Regions from separate parts of the Homo sapiens genome. Here region 1 is linked to region 2. The links are contacts of gene promoters, found by promoter capture Hi-C in blood cells and fetal thymus (Javierre and others, 2016). All regions are on one chromosome and are shown on one strand. The core of a region is centred on a gene start or on the middle of the fragment in contact, and the rest is flanking DNA. Distances in the headings are between cores, read along the strand shown.

Region 1 (3,686 bases), core at 393-2,892, 670 kb before region 2:
TTGGGCCATGAATATGGATGTCATAGCTGGGTGCAGTGGCTGGGTGCTGAGACCTGTAGTCTCAGCTACTTGGGAGGCTGAGTTGGAGGATCCCTTGAGCCCCAGAATTCAAGTCCAGGCTGGGCAACATAGCAAGACACTGTCTCTTGAGACAGAAAAAAAAAAAAAGAAAAGAAAAGAAAGTTTGTCCACGTAGTGTAATGTGTTCTGCTAATCAATAATCTCAGGTTTATAGTTTTAAAGTTGGCACTATTGTAAGCTATTTTATGAATATCCAGCATAGAGTCTAAGAAATAAATACCTTAAAGTCTAAGTGAATAATTAGCAAAAACAAACTTTTCTTGGGCTTTTTCCTTGAGCACCAATGCCCCCTTCCACTATCTTTTTTTTTTTCTTTAGCAAGATAGGCTTGTTAACTTCATAGTCTAATGGGATGGGAGAGGGCATAAGCTAGTGGTACACATAGAGTGCCACTGAAGCCCTGAGGCTCTAGCTTCCTGGAGCAGATGAAACCAAACTGAGACCAAATAATGAGTAACAATGGTGAGGAAAAGTGGGGAGGGCATTTGAAGCCTTAACAAGGTCTTGAGCAAAGGCTCGCAGGGTGTATGAGAAAAAAGGGAATGCAGTGTTGCTGGAGTGTAAGTGTGGAGGACGGGAATTATATTTGCATAGCAGGGGGATCCTTCTGCCAGTGAGAAAGAGGATGAATTTTAAAGGAGAGTTTCAAAGGGCTAAACCTGGAGATTGCAGCCACTCTGAGAAGCAATTGTTCGTGTATTAACTGCAGGTGTCATGAGAGGACTAGCACTCTAACCTTGGTGATAGTCATGGAGAGAATTTCAGAAATAAAAAATTTGAGAGTTTTTTGAGACATGTGTAGGAGGCAAAACTAGTCAGATTTCATGATGAATTTCATGATTTAGGTGAGGAAGGGGAAGGAGATTAAATTGAGTCCTTGGCTTCAATAACTTAGATAAAGGGTGCTCCCAGAAGGAGGAGCCCCTCTGGAGTTCCATAAGCTGTCTTGATACATTGGTAGATTTGGACCTTATACTCTGAGATTCTTAAAAGATTTCAAATTTGAATAAAGTGTAATGTTCATGGCATTGCACAAATTGATGATAATCTATGAACAGTCTTATTACTGTCAACCATAAAGCTTCTATTTTTTGCATGGTCTCCCTTATTAAGAATAAGTACTTGATTTGATCTGTTTTTCTTCTTTCAAAGTACTTAGGTTGAGGAAGAATTTAGAATAATACTTTCTATAAAACAGGATGGATGGCTTGAATGCTCCTGCTTAAATCCAATACTTTTCAGCACATAAGGTCAGGGGACATGAAACAAACAAGACATACTGTGTTCTCCAGGTCTCCACTTGCATTTCTAGATCACTAGATGTATTCACCATTTCCAAAATAGAGTGACAGACAGCATCTCATTTTCATGGTCTTCTTTTATTTTTAATTTTGCTTAGGCAATTCAATATAAGTTACCTTTTCTCAGTGACCATTTTTTCCTTTGCATTATTTCTTTATCTGAATTGCTTTCACTAGCACCATGCCCAGGTAGGTATTAACAGAGCATGGAAACAAGCCCTTCCTAGATTTATCCACATTTCCCTGCTCACTGCTAAACCTGCGTGTGTGTGTTGCCGGGGCGGGGGGTGAGGGGGAGCGGTGGGGGAGTGGGAGGGGGTGCTTATATTCTAGAATTATGGATTTATTCTAAAATAAATATTTTTATGTATTGAACTGAATAACTAGCTGAGCTAGAAGAGGTGAATATATTATTAAAATGTAAATCTGTGACATGACCCAGGTATTGCTTTGTTTCAACAATCACTGCTGCACCTGTGGTTGATAACACATTAGCATGGCTTTCCCCAAACAACCCCAATTAGCCTATGTGTAGTTGGAGAAGATAGAAAAAATATTCTGATGCCTAAAATATGCATAGATATGGAAGAATACAAATACATACAATTTAATGTACATTAAATACAAATACAACCAAGTTATGATTAGTTGGATTTTGCATCTGTTTTATTTTATTGTAGCTTACAAATTAAAAATGCTTTCCAAATTCAATGTAAAATACTAAATAATAATGAACCACAGAAGCTTCTTCATATCTTAAAGCAAATTTATTGAAAATTGTGGATTTCTACTCGTTAAGTTTGCCACTCCATTAATTGAATGTTTAATAAATATTACAGTTTACCAAGATAGTAATTATTATACTTTTCAATAAAATTACACTTTCATACCACCTATTATGTGTCCATAAAGCAGTTGTACCGTAGTAAAATAAAAAATATAAACTAAGACCATAACAAAACCCCTAGTACATCCCCTAGATGAACAGCAAGTAAAACTTTACACTTCTATGGCTATGTTATTATACATTTATTAACTGAATAGCAGAACCATTGACTTCATGAAAAATTGGCAACTGTATTGGAAAATATTTAAACTTGTTTTTAATGTCTTAAATCAGAGTGAACAATTTCTGATCCAAGGGCTTAAATTATTCCAGACCTTTGTCATGCTGGTTATATTATTTTAGTGAGAATAATTCTTTAGTTATTATTATTTTAGAGGGAATATTCTTTTAGAGCGAATAACTTCTCTGGTGTTGGAATAGTCCATCTTTATTTCATTTAAGTAGATTATACGACATCATTTTTAAAAAAGCAGTTAGAAATGATACACATTGATTAAACAACCAATTAGTATTTCAGAAGGCAGTAAGTAAGTAGAGGAGGCTAGAATACAACCCATAGAAAGGTAGAGACACTCCTATATATGGTTTTGACTTATTCATTGTTGCTCCCTCTCTCTGTCCAACTTTTCTCACTCTCTGTGTACATATCCTAATATCTTTCTCTCTCTACTCTAATCAATTTTTTGTGATTATATATCACTTTGTCTCCTTCTTTCTTTTCTTATCCCTCTGTATTTCTTTCCTGTTGGGGTTTTAGGAAAGACAAAAAACACCAACACCTCTCTATTCCTCTCAGTACAAAACCAATTGAGAGATAGACTCAGGTATCAACTAAATGGATATCAAAATTTCACTTGTATGACTGATATACCGATTGCAAAGTGCGACTTTACTTTCATAGCCCAATGGGCTCTTTAATACCACATTCCTGAAATAGACAGACTTGTCTACTTAGCCATAGTCACTCCTTGAGAGTGGCAATTGAGACCTGATTGATTCTTTCAAAGTTTAGACCTTTGCAATCTGGCAGCCACGTCACAAGGTTTTATTTGAGGTACCATTATTTACCATTCAGTTTGTTCTCATTCAAGCTAAATTTTCATTTTCCCTTTGAGACCGGTGTTTCTGCTATTCCAGAAGACGGTTGAGCCCATAGAACAGCTGTATTAGAAACAGAAGAGGTTGGCTCCTCTACTATTTTCCCTTCCTTAGCCAAATTCAAAACAAAATAAAGGTGAATAGAATTTAAGAGTTGCTGATCTAGCCCGGGCATAGTGGCTCACGCCTGTAATCCCAGCACTTTGGGAGGCCAAGGTGGGCGGATCACGAGGTCAGGAGATCGAGACCATCCTGGCTAACACGGTGAAACCCTGTCTCTACTAAAAATACAAAAAAATTAGCCAGGCGTGGTGGCAGGCGCCTGTAGTCCCAGCTACTCGGGAGGCTGAGGCAGGAGA
Region 2 (3,757 bases), core at 139-2,638:
GATCATTAACATTGTATCCATTTTAACACGGTACCCCAATACCATACATCATTCATTCATTCTTCATTCATTCAGTTGTTCCCCATACTTTCTGTTACTCCCTTAAATTTGGAGCTGGATCTTCATTAAATGCTTAAGATTTCTCCAAGGAATAAATATAAGAAGTAGGAACACTTACTTTCCAGTAATAAACTGACTCCTGGATGGTGTGCAAATAGGCTGGACATAGTAGTTCTCCAGTTTAACTCCTTCGGCAGCGAGCTTGTCAAGAGTAGGTGTTTTAATCTCAGATCCGTGGTAACCCACATCTCTAAATCCCTGATCATCCGCTAGGATGAAAATGAGATGGGGCTGGGAGGTGGAAGTTGTGCTGGGCTCTAGTTTCTCTCCAGCTTGAGCTAGTAAGGCCCCTTCTTCCTCCTCTTCTAAGGCCTGGCCCCAGGACAGGTAACCATAAGTGAGGAGGCAGAGGATCCAGAATCCTGCCAGCGCCCCCATTGCTAGCATCTTTCCAGGACAGACACAGGCCTGTGGAGAAGGCGGAGGCGGATGCCCCGCACAGCCCCTGGGAGCCATTCACTCAGGTCCCAGGTGAGACTCCACGCGGAGAACCACGCGCCCCGCGCCGCTGCGGGCGCACACATGCACCCAACAGACGGTGAAGACTCTCCACCTGGCAAGAAATCCTCCTCTCCTCTCAGCTGTCACCATGTCCGACAACTTTAATCTTCCAGAAGTGATGGCTTAATGGATGGGACTCCGGAAGAACAAGGAGGGCTCGCTCTTCTCCAGCACATTTCACTTTCTCCTCCTCCTCCCCCCTCCCTAGAGCAGCTTCCACCAAGGAAAAAAAAAAGAAAAAAGTTAATATCTCCACCCAAAAGTTCTCTGGAGAAAAAAACCAAGCAAGGAATTGAGAATCACAGTGGACAGGAACTTTTCGTGGCCAGAGCGCCCTCGACGTTGGGGAGCGAGGCTGACTCTCCTGGGAGTGCTGGTACGGAGGGCGGCGGGATCGGCCGTCTGTCCTGCGGTCCCCACACCTGGAAAGAACTGCGAAGTGGACGCGTCGCGTCTGGCTCTGATCAGACAGATAAACTGCCGTAGTGGACCGGCCTCCTGATCACCTTCTCCACTTTCCCAGGGCTATTTTCCCCAGTCCTTTCCTAGGCGTTTGCCAATCTCCCCGACACTCACCAGGCGGCGAAGTGAGGAAGAAGCCGTTTCCTGATCTCCCTCCACCTCCGCAGAAACTCCGGGCAGCAATTCCTTTTCCCCGCTGCTAGGGAGCCTGAAGGCCAAAGCCGGGTCCCTAGCCCCGCGGCCGGTCCGCGCGGAGCCCGCTTGGTCTTTGCGTAGTTGGCGCACCCGGCGCAGGCGCTGCAAACTGCGTGCGTTTTCTCAGCTAACTTATTTAGCTTTGGCACTCCGAGTTCTTTTGCCTCCTCCCTCTTTTCTCTCCAGTGAATCACAGAACGGTACTTTCTTCCTGAGCTCCCCCGGGAAGAGGGGGTGGGGGAAAAGGACTGTTTAGAGGCTCGATCTTTCCTTTTTCTTTTCCGGGAGGTGGATGGCCAAGGCAGAGGAGGCTTTGCCAGAGAGAGAGCTGCGTGCTGCTCCAGCCCAGCGGGATTCCGGGGGATCCGCCTGGGCTACCGCGTCCCAAGAGTGTCGCCTCCTGCCCATCACCCCGCTAGAGGGAAAGGACGGCGGCGCGAATGGGGAAGGGTAAAGCGGGCACTTCTTTTCGTGGGGCTGTTGGTGAAGAGCCCCGTCTCCCATCCCTAAAGTTGCGCTTGCAAACTTTTTCTAGCTTCTGGAGGGAGTGAGAGAGAAGGAGCAGGAATAAAAACAAAATGCGTATGACACTCTTTCCTCTTTCCAACTTCCTTTGCAGGTTTTCCTTTACTAGTCCCCCCACCCCCATCATTTTCCTATTCCTTTTGTCCCTACCTTTTTTTTTTTTTTTTTCAGTAACGATGACAAATTTTTAAGTTTTATTTCCTCTCCCAATAGCTGGCTTTTACAGCCTGATTCTTCGTTACCCTTTCCCTATGTGAAAATACTGGAATTGCCCGCTCCCTCTTACCTCTCCCCTAACTTACCCACAGGGTGTCTCCAGCCAAAAGCCTGGAGAGGAAGAGTTATGCATTTCTCCTTCAAGAACCCCGAAGCCAGTCTGCATTCCTGCATTAAAGAAGCCAGTGTTTCCCATCCAGTAATTCAGGGAGCTTCATCATTTTTTTTCCTTCTTTCTTTTTTACCATGTGGAGGAAAACCATTGTAAAAACTTATCTTGGTTGTGAAAATACTCTTGATTTTACTAGAGTCATAGAGTTTTAAAGTCCTGCTCAAAGGCAGCAGAGGGATGTATAGTATAGTCTCTATAGAAGAGGCAATGAATGCCAAGAGCCACTGAGATATTTTTTTCTACCACCAAATTTATTCAACAGTTACTTACTGAATACCTACTGTGGGCTGGCACATAACATGTCAGATTCTCTCAATTGACTGAAACATAAATCTAGGTTTCATTTAGCCATTTATTTCTAATTCTCTCCTGTTGCTAAAGTTCCTGCTGAGTTCCCAGGCAAAACTTTGTGAAATGGGAACTTTGAAAGGCACGATGGTGCTCCATGAAGTTAACCTTGCTAGCTGCTGTAGGCCTTCTGGTCTCTGTTCTTCCTTGCAGCCCTTCTGGCTAAGCTGGGGAGAGATAGTCAGTTTTAGAAGCCATGTTCAGAAATGTGAGTTTAGCAATTCTGTAAATTAAGTCACCAAATATGTAATGAGAGTACTGAGTGTCAGGGGATTGAAAAGCATTGAGAGGTAGGGCCCTAGGCTTAATGGGCCTAGCCAGGTGCTTGAATGGGAAAGATGCAAACATTCTGGTCAATCTAGCCTTTTATTTGGGGAGATAGTGACTTCTTGTGACATAGCACAAGAAGTATCCATGTTCTGTGCAAGAAGGAGACACATTTTCAGTTGAGGTTCCAAGCAATAATAATAAAAAACAATCAAAATGTATGGAATACTTACCATGTGCTAACCATAGTATTCTATATACTGATACATACACACATATACAGTCGCATCTATCAGGGATTAGTTTCAGAACCCTGAGGGATACCAAAATTCATGGATGTTCAAGTCCCTTATGTAAAATGGTGCACTATGTGTATAAAACCTACATATTAATGTATCTTCTATGCTTTAAAACATCTCTATATTACTTATGATACCTAATACAATGTAAATGCTATGAAAATAGTTGTTGGACTGTATTATTTTTATTGTTGTATTGTTATTTTTTTTTCTTCTTTCCTTGAATGTTTCCAGTGTATAGTTGGTTGAGTCCCATAATGTAGACCCTGCGAATACAGAGGACTGACTGGGTATGTTTGTTTATATAGTGCTATATACAGTTTATTTCTTTTCCATCTATATCAACCTTATGAGGTATTCTTCCACTCAACAAGTATTTGGGGAGCTGGGCCAATGCTAGAGGACAGGAAGGTAATGATGCAATAAATCAGTCTCTGCTCTGTTGGAATATACACCAGAGTGAAGAAGAAATACATTCATCAATGAATCACCCTACAACTCCAATAGTTACTTACTGTATTACTTACTATACAAATGTTCTGAAAAAAGGAACATTTTCAAAGAAATTTTAAAACAAAAAACGATTTAGACTGGGTACAATTACTGGGTGAGGTGGTTCAGGGGAGTGATATTTAAACTGAGGGCATGTTAT

The links. Contacts are between HindIII fragments. The CHiCAGO score rates a contact against its expected background, and 5 or more counts as called.
Region 1: a fragment that was not itself captured here is called in contact with the fragment with the promoter of ARSJ in region 2 in 1 of 17 cell types (M2 macrophages); the score reaches 6.5 in M2 macrophages.

Annotation. Positions count from the first base shown.
Region 1 is chr4:113,312,125-113,315,810 of GRCh38, forward strand. The region is part of intron 24 of ANK2 (ankyrin 2); the gene reads left to right. Among named protein-coding and RNA genes, the nearest start is that of MIR8082, 160 kb to the left of the region's middle. The HindIII fragment of the contact is 964 bases long and covers 1,161-2,124 here.
Region 2 is chr4:113,978,259-113,982,015 of GRCh38, forward strand. ARSJ (arylsulfatase family member J) reads right to left here and starts at 1,389. Exons shown (of 2, transcript NM_024590.4): 1 at 179-1,389. The coding sequence starts at 576. LOC107986305 (a long non-coding RNA gene) reads left to right here and starts at 1,555. Exons shown (of 2, transcript XR_001741794.2): 1 at 1,555-1,728; 2 at 2,112-3,270. LOC124900762 (a long non-coding RNA gene) reads right to left here. Exons shown (of 3, transcript XR_007058237.1): 3 at 2,637-2,706. The HindIII fragment of the contact is 10,512 bases long and covers 1-3,757 here.